3 separate regions of the Homo sapiens genome follow, and all the other regions are linked to region 1. Evidence: promoter capture Hi-C in 16 types of primary human blood cells and fetal thymus (Javierre and others, 2016). All regions are on one chromosome and are shown on one strand. Each heading gives the region's core, a stretch centred on a gene start or on the middle of the fragment in contact. The rest is flanking DNA. Distances are from core to core; before and after follow the strand shown. Region 1 holds the start of CUBN (cubilin). Region 2 overlaps CUBN (cubilin). Region 3 overlaps CUBN (cubilin).

Region 1 (4,473 bases), core at 912-3,411:
ATCATGTGATATAGAATCACTTAGGAAGTAGTCTTTTGTGTCTTATTGTTGTCCTTGAAAAATATTTTTAAGCAAGCAAAATGACTTGCCACAGGTTGGCAGAAAAATATTTGCAAAATACGTATTTGAAAATTCTTGTATCTAGAATATATGAGCTCTTACAATCAATAAAAGACAAACAACAAAATTTTAAAAAATAGGCAAAATATCTAAACAGACAGTTCACCGAAGAAGATAAACAAATGGCAAATATACATAAAAAGATGCCCAACATCTTTGGTCATTAGGGAAATATAAATTAAAATTGTAATGAGATACCTATGTTGACACAAAGACCTGTTCACAAATGTTCATAACAGCTTTATTTATAATAGTCCCAAACTGGAAATAACTCAAGTGTTTATCAACTGATGAGTAGAGAAGCAAACTGTGGGATAGCCATATGATGAAATACTACTCAATAATAAAAGGGAACCAATTAATGATATACACTACAGCACAGATGAATTACAAAAGCATTATGTTGAGTGAAAGAAGCAGATACAAGAGACATATAGAAGAAATTGGGAAGGTTTAAAAAAAATTTTTAAAAGCAGTGACTATTTGAGTATCACAAGTAAAGTTTTTTTTTGTTTTGTTTTGTTTTTGAGACGGCATCTCGCTCTGTCCCCCAGGCTGGAGTGCAGTGGCATGATCTCAGCTCACTGCAAGCTCCGCCTCCCGGGTTCACGCCATTCTCCTGCCTCAGCCTCCCGAGTAGCTGGGACTACAGGCGCCCGCCACTAAGCCCGGCTAATTTTTTGTATTTGTAGTAGAGACGGGGTTTCACCACGTTAGCCAGGATGTTCTCGATCTCCTGACCTCGTGATCCGCCCGCCTCGGCCTCCCAAAGTGCTGGGATTACAGGCGTGAGCCACCGCGCCCGGCATAAGTAAAGAATTATAAGCTATGGTACATAATGATCCTCTCCTCAAAGAGCCTACATAAGTAAGACACAAAATAAGTAAAACACAAACAGGCTTGTCCTGAAAGAGCCTGCATGGGTATTAACCAATGCAATGGTAATTACCTAGAGATTTTTCTTAGAAGTGAAATTTTTACAGCTCTCCCTCAAATTCAGTTTTGTCTGTGTGCTCATGGAAAGTCTGAGTGCATCAATAGTTGATTTTACAATCGAAATGTAGAATATTTTCATCACTCTCAGTGGTTTCTGTAGTCCCAGCACAGAGTGAGTGGGGACATCAGTGCTCCATGTCCTCAAACCATATATCCAGCTGGAAGGGTGTATAGCGCAGTGTGGAAAGTGGGAATGGATTCCACAGCCGTCCATAGGTCCCACAGGGATGATAAAAAGTAAAAAGTACAAATTCTTTGTACATTCTGGATATTAACCCATTTTCATATATATATGATTTGCAAATATTTTCTTCCATTCTGGGAGTTGCTTTTTCACTCTGTTGATGTATTTTTTGATGCACAAACGTTTTTAATTTTGATGTATTCCAATTTATATCTTTTGGTTGTCTGTGTGTTTTTCTTTTTTTGCCCATGCTTTTGGTATCATACTCAAGAAATCATTGCCAAATCCAAAATCCAAGGTCATGAATTTTTGTCCTATTCTTCTGAGTTTTATGTTATAGTTTCAGATTTTTTGAACCATTGTGAGTTAATTTTATAGTTTTAGCTCTTAGATTTAGATCTTTGAACTTTTTTGAGTTAATTTTTGCATATGGTATGAGGTAAGCCTCCAACTTCTTTTGCATGTGGATATCTAGTTTTCCTAGCGCTGGGTAAAGGTGGAACTCCTCTGCAAGGGAGGTGAGGAAGGAGGGGAACAGAGAAAGGTGTAGATAATGACCAGTTTACTTTTGTTGAAACCTAGTTACTTCTTAAGCAAAGATTGTTTAAGTGGATGTTTTCAAAGCTGCTTGTTACTGTTTCAAAGGTCAAATAGATAATGATTAAGTTGCGCATCACTTAAGGTAGATTTTGACCTCTCACAAGTTGAAGAGTACTGAAGATCTAAGATCATTTACATCCCTCTGGAAGAAAAAATAACATAGCCTTCTAGGGCAAAGAAGAAAAAACTCAACAGTTACAGGATATTCCATGGTTCAAAGTACACCTGCCTGGTTTGCTGTTCTCCAAAATCCCATGCTCAGTTGGTTGGAGTGGCCTCACTCTTACCTGCCAACCTGGGAGGTTGATGATGAACATGTCTTTACCTTTTCTTTGGAGTTTGCTTACCTTATTAATATTTGCTGAAGTAAATGGCGAAGCTGGAGAACTTGAGCTGCAGAGACAAAAAAGAAGCATCAATCTCCAACAGTAAGTAAACACATGGGTCATTCCTGCTCAGGGACTAGGCTAATTCCTCACCAGTTTTCCCAAATAGCCAGATAAACAAAGGTGCAATTTTTCTTGAGGAAAATTATGTTGAGAAGCAAACAGGGAAAAACATTTAGACTGAGGTATGAAATTACTTTCCTATGCACAAATTATTATCTGTCATTTTGCAAATAATCTGTTTGCAATTGCCAGGAGGTATCTCTGAGAAATGTGCAGAGAAAAAAGTGGCAGATGAGCAGGGGCAGTTGGGTTGAGATGATCAAAAAGTGAAGATGTATTTGGCCTGTAGTTATTCAGTAAGAAACTTTGTTATTTTGGTTTAAAAATTGTACTTGCTAATTACTGATGCATTCTCTCGTTTGAATTATATAGGCCTCGAATGGCTACAGAGAGAGGAAATTTGGTGTTTCTTACGGGGTCTGCTCAAAACATTGAGTTTAGAACCGGATCCCTGGGAAAAATTAAATTAAATGATGAAGATCTCAGTGAGTGTTTACATCAGGTAATACACTGGAAATATATTGAAGTCATTTTGTATATCCATATACGGTGACTTAATTGAACAAGTCTAGATTAATCTGTACCTTGAATCTTTTTTAATTATTATTTTTTATTAATACATAATTTGATACATTCCTATAATGTGTAAAGTTCAAATCAGGGTAATTGGGATATCCATCACCTTAAATATTTACCTTTTCTTCATGCTAAGAACATATGAATTGTTCTCTTCTAGTTATTTTGAAATGTACAATAGATTAATGTTAACTATAGTCACCCTACTGGTCTATCAAACACTAGGTCTTATTTCTTCTATCTAACTATATATTGTATTCATTAATCAACCTGTCTTCAGCCTCCCTCCCCCTTCCTAGTGTACCTTGAATCTTTAGCATAGAGAACATAATTGGGCATCAGACATGTTCTTGTAAAGGACGATGGCCTGGGGTTAATAGTGGGTAGAGGGAGTATGCTAAAAGATAGAAGCTCATTGTGCCAGACAATGCACCCTAGTCCAGAGAAGGCACGGAGGGTGGAACTGAAACTCCTCCACAGGGGATGCGAGGAAGTAGGGGACCAAGGATATGTGGACATGTGACCAGTTTGCTTTTGCCACAGAACAGAATTGGCCAGTTATTCTCCTGCCTTACTGGGTGTTTTCATTTCCCAATAATCACTGCATATTTCAGTCATAATGTTAGAAGTCAGCATTATTCAGAGCTTACTGTGGGCCATCCACTGTGCTTAGCACCGTATGGATGTTATCTCATTTGACCTTCACAGCTGTCCTATGAGGTGGCCTTTATTGTCACCCTAGTTTTACAAGAGGTAAAGAAACCCTGAAGCAGTTAGGTAACTTGCCCAGGACAGCAATAAATAGCTGAGCCAGGACTTAAAACCTAAACAGTCTGCTTCCAAGCCAGGTTTCTTAATAAGCACCCTAAACTGGTATTATAGGAAAACATACAAATGGAAAATACCTTGATCTATTGTTACTGAAAAGGATAAGTGGAATTATGCTGTGGCTATTTTAGCCCAGTGTTTATTACGCATGGTGTTGTTTTGGTTTTTATAATAATAGGCAAGATCTTAGTGCTTAAAGTAGAATACTACTCAAGTTTTTAATTATGTTACTGTAAAGATAAATATGATATTTTCACTAGTGCTCTTCATTTCTTCTTCTTTTTCTAAAATTAGATCCAGAAAAACAAAGAAGATATTATAGAGTTAAAAGGGAGTGCAATTGGTCTGCCTCAAAATATATCTAGTCAAATCTATCAGCTTAATTCCAAGGTAAGTCTGACATCTACGTCATAAGAACCGATGAGTTCTCCCTAGTTCTATTGTATAAGTAACCGTTTTGTAGGGGATATACCAACTTTGTGTGCTCTTTAGAGATTTAGCATGTAACTACTCACTGTTTGGTTAAATGACACAGCTGTAATGGAGGCTGTAGAAGTGATGGACAGAAGGCAGGAAATGCTGTGCAAGCACTTGTTGCAGAAGTAGGCCTTGGGCTGGGAGCAGTGGCTCACTGCAAGTGAATGGATGATTAATATAAAAAACTGCCTGTAATCCCAGCAGTTTGGGAGGCCACAGAGGGAGGGTCGCTTGAGCCTAGGA
Region 2 (4,464 bases), core at 787-3,286, 140 kb after region 1:
GAGCAGTAAACCAGGACAATTGCTTGGTGTGGACAGTTACCTCAGTCTGGCCTCTCTGCGATAGGCTTTTGTGAGCTCAGCCTTGCAAGAAGGGAAGTAAATAATGTCCAAAGTGGCAGTGTTTATTCTTCTAGAGGCTTCTGGGTCCAGCCAACTCATACCCATTATGTTTGTGATCTCAAGGGGATGTTTGAGCAGAGAAAACAAAGAATATTTTGCCGACGTGCGAGTTTTCTTTGTTAGAACTTAACACTTGGCGTTCAGTGGTCTTTCCAAATATGTGCTGTTGATTGGGCTTGGGTGATTGGGAGCACATGCTGTCAGTTTCATGCTGTGGGGACTGTGCCCTAGGCGAGGGGGTAGGGAGATCTTGAAAATGGGAAAGAAAGCTGGCTCTACACACCATGCAAGCTTGCTTCTGCCATTTGCATATGTGTACGTGTCAGGGGCCACACAGGGCTCTTCCTAAAGCCCTGCTTTTGATGGGACTTGGGGGGAGTGCACAAACATCAGCTCCTCCTAATAAAAATAAGCCTGAAGCAGTCGGTATGCTTCATTCCTTTGCAATTACTGTCCTTGTGCTCAGCCCTCTGTGTAACAGCCGTTTCATTCATTTTGGCCTTTACCGGATGGCTGGGGGGAATTAATCAGACAAAGAAATCATTATAGATTCAAATCACACACTCCTCCCCAAAGTAGGCTTCTTGTTCTCACTCCCTCTCCCCAGAGAACACTTGAGTGATTTTCCTATCAGTCAGCAGTGGGTCCTGAGGGTGGGCAAGGGCCGGGGGTGCTGAGGAATGGGGGCAGAGTGTCCCGAGGTGGGGGAAAGGCACAGAGGGAGGGTGGGAGGGCGCTGTGCCCAGATCCCCCTGAGAGCCGCCTTCCTGGCTCTGGTCCTGAGTGCCTGTACATGGATGGCTGCAGTTGCAGTTATGAAGGTCTCAGATACCAACTCTTTGAAAACTGTCTCCCAAAGATGGTCTTTCTTTTACAAATCGAAGTTTGAAAAGACCTGAAGATGAGGAGTCAGCATCTTCTATTTGATTCCCATCCTGCCTTCGCCACCCTCCCCAGCCCCACACATACACACAGGAGATAAACAGGACCCAGAGGAGACTGAGAAACCTGTCTGTGAGGCCTCCTGGAGGCCTGGCCTAGGCTATCCTTGCCTGCAAGATGCCCTCCGTGAGCCCAAGGAGACTCTTTCCAGAGGACTATGTCACTGGGGTATTGGATTCCAGTCAGACAGACAGTTTGGGAGATTTGGAGGAGCCTACGTGGTCTGAAGTCATGTGTGATAGATCTAGAAGTGAAACAAGAGAGTTCCCTGACCACCCCGTCGCAGGACCTGTGACAGGGGTGTGGCACATCTGTTCGGCTGTGGTGCCCTCAAACCCCTTATGGGAGGGGGAGCATGCAGATTGGCAGGTGCAGGAACCCAGGCAAGATGCTACCCACAGTACGGTCTAGTGGTGGGTGCCTGTGACTCTCAAAGCCCTCATGGGCAGGCTACAGTATTCTTTTAGCTCTGCCATCCACAGAGGGCTCAAGTGTTAACCAGCTCAGTGACTCTTGGTACCCGACTTCCTGTCTGGCATCCAGGAAGAATCAGGTCACACACGGACTTGAAGGATGGTGAATGTGGGGATTTTATTGGGCGATGGAGGTAGCTGTCATTGGAATGGATGGGGAACTGGAAAGGGGATGGAGTGTGAAGATGATCTTCCCCATAGAGTTTCGCTGTGCTGTGGATGATCAACTGTCTGACCATCCCCGGCCAAACTCCTCTCAACGTTCAGATGCTCCTTCTCTCTCCTTCTCTGCCACGTTGTTCTTCTCCTCCTCTGCTCTTCTATTCATCTGCCCATCTGCTCGTGGAGCCTGGAGTTGGAGGTTTATATGGGTACAGGAGATGGGGACGTGGCAGGCCAAAAGGCAACATCTGGGTGTGGAAACAAGAATGCCTGTTCCCGTTTAGGGCCGTGGGTTTCCAGGCTTGGGGATGGGGCCTTTGCCAGGGAACCTCCCTCTTCTACCCAGTGTTTCCCTGTCTGCTGTCTATATCAGAAGGAGCCATCTGGAGACTAAGGCAGAGTCTAGGGCAATCCCTGAGCAGAAAAGTGGGATGCACTTAGTCAGGTTCCTGGGCATGGGCGTGCTGGGAGCAGGCACAGGGAGGGTGCATAGCATCCCCTTCCTTAGGCTCCAAAACACACCCAGAGAGCTGGTATTTCCACTCCTCCTAAAGAAGCATACGTGTTATATTCAATGTGTGGTCTTAGAAAACATTCAGTTTGCAGGGTAGGTGGAAATTCCTAAAAATATAACTGGGATATTGGTAGCCTTCAGTGAACTCAACTTTCATAACAAAATGGCTTTATGCTAAGACTAATCATATGTGCCAGAGTTAGAAAATCAGACATTTCTTTTTTTAAAGGTCCCCCTAAAATTCAGAAAATCGACTTAATATTGTATGATCTGTAATGTTTCTGCTAGAGAAAGCAGGAAAGCCCACAAAGACATGAAAAAGACAAAAAGAGGAGATAGGGAAGATTCTGGAATAATCTACTCCGTCCTCCTCTGCAATTCTGGCTGATGAAACAAGCAGGCATTTTATGGGTGATTGAACTTGTGTGTTCCTAAGGCACAGGGAGTGCCTTTGAAAACTCAGCTCAAGTTTATAGTGCATCCCCACCCAGGGAGGCTGAGATTTCAATCTCTAATAATCATAGAACCCAAGGAGCCGGGGGTCAAAATGAGCCAGAGCAAGGGCCTGTAATTGCTTAAAATATTTTTTAAAGTCTTTTTTCCTACATCCCATGTTAGATCTATGGAGGCCCCGATTTCCACTCTCCCAGAATAGCCCAACTGTGTACCCAGAGATCACCTGAGAACCCCATGCAGGTCTCCAGCACTGGAAATGAGCTAGCAATTCGATTCAAGACCGACTTGTCCATAAATGGGAGAGGCTTCAATGCGTCATGGCAAGCAGTCACTGGAGGTGAGTGAGAAAAGGAGGTTTCCTAAAGTACTTAAGCCGAGCCCTCGTTAAATTTCATGAAATGCTTGGGAAAACGTATGAAGGCTACACACTTATAACTTAGTGACATCCCAAAGGGCAGCCTACTGAGACCTGACATATACCCTTCCCTAAAATACGTGATAAAGTTTAACTTCCTAAGGGTCACCACATATGTGAAAGCAAGAATGTAAGTGTGTAAGTCCATGGTGAGAGCAGAACTAGGGTGATAGGCCAGACCCACTCTCCAAGGGCTCGTACCTCTTAACCAGCCTCCATACCTCATGCCATAGTACAGACCTTTAGATTCTTGGCAAATATCAAACTTGCAAACATTAAATTTGTGAATCCCAAGGAATTACTGTGTGTTCTATGGTGACTTTCTGCCCAAGATTTTAGGCAGTCTAAATAAATTGCCTATTGTATATTTTTAAACTATAGCAAAAATCTATGGCACAAAATAGTGTAACAGATGTTAGCATATGCAACTACTAGAGATAGCCACATTTGCAGAATGCTTACTGTGTACTAGGCACTTTTCTAACTATTTTATGAGGATTATCTCTAGTCCTTACAACCACCCTGTGAGGGAAGTCCGCTTCATATCCTCATCTTACCAGTGTGGACACTGAAGCTTAGAAAGGTTAGTGTCTTGCCCAAAGTTCCACAGCTAGAAAACGTCAAAGCACATATGTGATTCCAGACTACCTTATGGCCACACTTCTTCAACTCTATCATAACCAAGGTATCTATATAAGAGCTCTCCCCTAAAGTTAATTATGTAGGAATTTAAATAAACACACACACACACACAGACACACACATTTAGTGTTTAGATTACCCCTGAATGATTCTCCATTATTAGAAAATAGTGCCAAAGTTTTCTATTATTGGCTTATATTATCATAAATCCAAGAAATGGTGGGTCATAGAGAAGACATTGAACTAACAGGTATTTGATAACATCAAAGGAATTTTAAAAAACCTAAGTAACTGTACTATATCCGAATATTAAATTTTTAAAGGGTAGATATTAAATTATTTTTAAATGCATGCACTACTAGATTATCACAATTCTTGGAAGGAAACATGTTATTCTTCCAGTATGCTATATTTTTAGAGGACAGTGAAGAAGCAGCATTCCATGGCTTTGTGAAAACGTGATTTCATTTGCGTTTCCTTTTAATTATTTTTAAAATAAATTTTGGCATCTGTATTTAAAGTGTTTGAAGTATTTTCTTAGTATCATCCATGTCATCCCTTCTTATTCTGTTGGGATAAATGGCTTAATGTGGATATCAAATTCTTCAGTGTTTTTAGCATCGACTAACTGATTCAAGCAAAGTAATGTATTGATCTATACAACCAGGTAATGGATTATTTTCGAGCATCCATGATTCCTCTCATGAAATAATTGTGTTCCCCACTTCCAGGTTGTGGTG
Region 3 (3,973 bases), core at 103-2,602, 200 kb after region 1:
CATCGAAGGAGCAAAACGTCATCATTTATTCTCATAAATTACTTGGTTGAAGTCAGCCATCTGAGGGTTGGCAGGAAGAGTTTGTTGCTCTTGAAATATGAATTTGATGAGTCAAAAGCGGGCACCATATATGGGATACCATCATGCACAGTATGATTGAGACTTTTCAAACTTGACATGTGAAGTCCAGTAACAGCCTTAAATCCAAACTAACTGAAAGGTGATAAAGTAGTCCAAGGAAGAGTGAAAGACTCTCATGTTTTGATCAAAAAACATAATTTTAAAGTAGATTCTCAATCTAACATTAAAAATTAATCTAATATTTCCTCCATGCTTATATATACCTTTTATAAAGTAGGGAGCAACTGAAGATAAGTTGTGTTCCTCACGCTCAAGGGAGGCAGGCTGCATAGTGGCTTAAGAGCATGGGCTTTGGAACTAGACCTAAGATACATTTTCACCTCTACAATTTAACTAGCTGTGTGAGATGTCTGCCCTTACTGATGAGCTTCTGGTCCCTGACAACTGGAGAATTAATGCCTCCTCCTTTTATCCTCTTCCTTTATCTCCTGCCCTCTCACTCTCATGTATATATTACTATGTATCGCAACTCATTATACATACATACATGTATACACATGTATGTATATAGTAAGGGTGGAACCATTGGAATTAATATGTGTGTTTATATATGTATATAATATATATAAATATGTGTGTGTGTCTATGTATATATACATACTTGGCAGCTCCCGGTCTAGAATGTATTTCAAATTTAACCTGTGAGTGGTATAATGGACTTTGGAGACTCAGAAGTGGGGAGGATGGGTGGGGTATGAGGGATAAAAAACTACATATTAGGTGTAATGTATACTAGTCAGGGAACCAGTGCACTAAAATATAGACTTCACCAGTATGCAATTCATCCATGTAACGAAAAACCACTTGTATCCCAATTAGACTAGATAGATAGATAGATAGATAGATAGATAGATAGAAAAAAAAATTTCACCTTTGAAAGTTGAACACTTTATTCCCACCCTTTTCCATGCCACCACCCCCCAATTCTACACTCCTCATAATCTCAGCAAATGGAAAGTACATTTTTCTCATTATTTAAGTCAAAATCTTGATGTTATTTTTGACTTTTCTGTTTGTCTCACACTTAACCATCAACAAATCACACTGGCTCTACCCTCACAATGTATCTAGATTCCAACCACGCCTCTCCATTTCTGTTGCTACCAGCCTAGCCCGTGCACCTATCATCTCTCCTTGGCCTCAGGCGGTCCCCTCCTTATTGGACACTCTGCTCCTGTCCTTCCCTGTCCTCCACCCCTTACAGTCTAAGGACTGCACATAGAGTGACATTTTCAAACTTAAGTGAGATCATGCCATTCTGATGCCCAAAACCCTTCAACATCTTCCTCTTCTTATTCAGAATAAGTCTTTTCAGTTTCCTGCATGACCTAGCCATGCTACCTTTGGAATCTCTCATTCTGCCTCATCCATTCTGACTTCCATGATGTACCTCTAACACATCAAGCCTTTACACTGTTTTCTGAACTGGAATGTTTTCTCCCCCATAACTATCTGGCTTGATCCTTCATTTCATTCATGTCTCTGCTAAGATGTTACTCCAATGACGTGGCTTTTCTAACTTAACTCTAACAATAAAGTACCCTTCTCCCTCCTCTCATCCATTTTTCTTTATAGAATTTATCACCATCTCACATATCATGTATTTGTTTATTGTATGTCTTCCCCATCTATAAAGAAATCTTTATGAAAGCAGGTAATTTGTCTTGTTTACTTACCTCTGTATCCCAGATCTCAATGACCACCACAAACTGAGTAGCCAATAGCATGTGCTCAATACATGCTTGTTATGATAATCATTTCCTGCACTCTGGCTTTATTTTCAAGCATTTTTATTGCCTCCACTTTGAAAACCCCCCAAGAAAACTAAGAAAGCATAAAAATCCAGTTGCCAATGCTATTTAAATAACCGACCTTTGTTTCTTTGTGGGAAGGCTGCGGTGGATATTTGCATGCAGACAGAGGGATCATCACGTCCCCCAAGTATCCAGAGACTTACCCATCCAACCTCAACTGTTCTTGGCACGTCCTGGTCCAAAGTGGCCTGACCATTGCTGTCCATTTTGAACAGCCTTTCCAGATTCCAAATGGAGATTCTTCTTGCAACCAGGGGGATTACTTGGTGGTAGGTCTTGCTGCTACCCTTTCTAATTACATTTTCCATAGACTTCATTCAGAAAACAAAATGATAATTTTTCTCTCCTGGGACATAAATGGATAAGAATTGCGTACTCCTTCTTTTGCAATGTAAAGGAGTTGATGAAATTTTAATTTGTCTTTCCAGCTAAGAAATGGTCCTGATATCTGTTCTCCACCCTTGGGACCCCCTGGAGGAAATGGTCATTTTTGTGGCAGTCATGCTTCATCAACTCTGTTCACCTCGGATAATCAAATGTTTGTTCAGTTTATTTCTGATCACAGTAATGAAGGGCAAGGATTTAAAATCAAATATGAGGCAAAGAGTTTAGGTAAGTATTTTCACTGAGAATTATATCTGCTTTTCCTGCAATTGCTTGATCTTCTTTGATATAAAATTTTCTTTTCTGAACCAACAGTAATAGAATTAATAAGAATGCCTACTCTCAAGTACTTATTATATTTGATACATTCAATATCTCATCGTGACTACTTTTCAAGTAAAGTATCATTATTTCCATTTTAAAGATAAATAAAATGAGGCTTGGACTTTTCCAAGGCCACATACCTAATTAGTGACCAAAGTGAAATTTTCCATGAGTATAAAATAAACTATTCTTCTTGATCCCTGGAATTCCTTAGACCTTTCCATTATAAGATGTCTAATTGTAAGTTAATTCTAGTTACAGAAACATTATAAGACTTACATTTGCCTTATTTTGTAATAATTTGTATGCTGTTTTCAAAAGAACACATAATTTTTTGATTCTATTATTACTGATTTAATTATATATTACATGATATCTGTAATTGCTTGTACTTAATTACACTTGATTATAATTGCATTTAATTCTACTGTAATGATTTGATTTTGATGACATTTGCTTTTTAGTAATGTTTAATTGAATAAATAAATAAATAAATAGGCATCACTTCAAAAAAAGGGAGTAATGTCAGTAGAAAGTAATATAATAATAAATTTTTCCTTTGTCCCACCAGAAGTTAGATAATATAGATTTCAAAATGATCCTATGACTTGAATCCCAGATTCATATATATATATATGTAAATGAAATCATATGTTTTATTGCACATTGTATGAGATTTAAAGTCAACATGGTTTCTTTATTTTGGTAAAAGAGATGAATAAGAGTCTTCACCAACTGACACACAAAAATAAGCAAATAGCTTGAGTAAGGTCCAGAACACCAGGGAAGGAGCTTTGGTCACTTCCCAGAGCTCTGGCACAAGGAGGGAGCTTTAATGCAGCTCTGTGGGCACCCGCGCCATTGCTTTCTAAGCTGGGACCTTCTCATCCCTCCATCTCTTGATGCTGAGCTTTGCAGCTGAGTCATGAATGGGCAGTTTTCACCTGGTACCAAAGCATTTCAAGAGTAGCAGTGTCCTGAGTCTAGTGAGTAGACGTCAGCCCATCCTACCCATCCTACATAACTCTACTCTTTTGTTTTTGTTTATAATAGACTCAGTCTTTTTTTTCTTTCTTGAGACAGGGTCTCTCTGTCGCCCAGGCTAGAGTACAGCGGCATGATCTCAGCCTACTGCAACCTCTGCCTCCCAGGCTCAAGTGATTTCCTGACCCAGCCTCCCTAGTAGCTGGGATTATAGGCATGCACCATCATGCCCAGCTAATTTTTGTACTTTTGGTAAACATGGGATTTCACCATGTTGCCCAGGCTGGTCTTGAATTCCTGAGCTCAGGTGAGCCACCTGCCTTGGC

The links. Contacts are between HindIII fragments. The CHiCAGO score rates a contact against its expected background, and 5 or more counts as called.
Region 2: a fragment that was not itself captured here is called in contact with the fragment with the promoter of CUBN in region 1 in 3 of 17 cell types (activated CD4 T cells, M1 macrophages and total CD8 T cells); the score reaches 9.0 in activated CD4 T cells.
Region 3: a contact is called between a fragment that was not itself captured here and the fragment with the promoter of CUBN in region 1, in 5 of 17 cell types (activated CD4 T cells, naive CD8 T cells, M0 macrophages and 2 more). The highest score is 11.5, in activated CD4 T cells.

Annotation. Positions count from the first base shown.
Region 1 is chr10:17,127,499-17,131,971 of GRCh38, reverse strand. CUBN (cubilin) reads left to right here and starts at 2,161. Exons shown (of 67, transcript NM_001081.4): 1 at 2,161-2,328; 2 at 2,722-2,851; 3 at 4,048-4,143. The coding sequence starts at 2,207. The HindIII fragment of the contact is 5,551 bases long and covers 1-4,473 here.
Region 2 is chr10:16,982,645-16,987,108 of GRCh38, reverse strand. It overlaps CUBN (cubilin), which reads left to right. Exons shown (of 67, transcript NM_001081.4): 30 at 2,830-3,004; 31 at 4,456-4,464. Among named protein-coding and RNA genes, the nearest start is that of CUBN, 140 kb to the left of the region's middle. RefSeq lists a silencer at 2,069-2,228. The HindIII fragment of the contact is 3,245 bases long and covers 414-3,658 here.
Region 3 is chr10:16,923,835-16,927,807 of GRCh38, reverse strand. It overlaps CUBN (cubilin), which reads left to right. Exons shown (of 67, transcript NM_001081.4): 42 at 2,034-2,224; 43 at 2,384-2,567. Among named protein-coding and RNA genes, the nearest start is that of RSU1, 110 kb to the right of the region's middle. The HindIII fragment of the contact is 5,679 bases long and covers 1-3,973 here.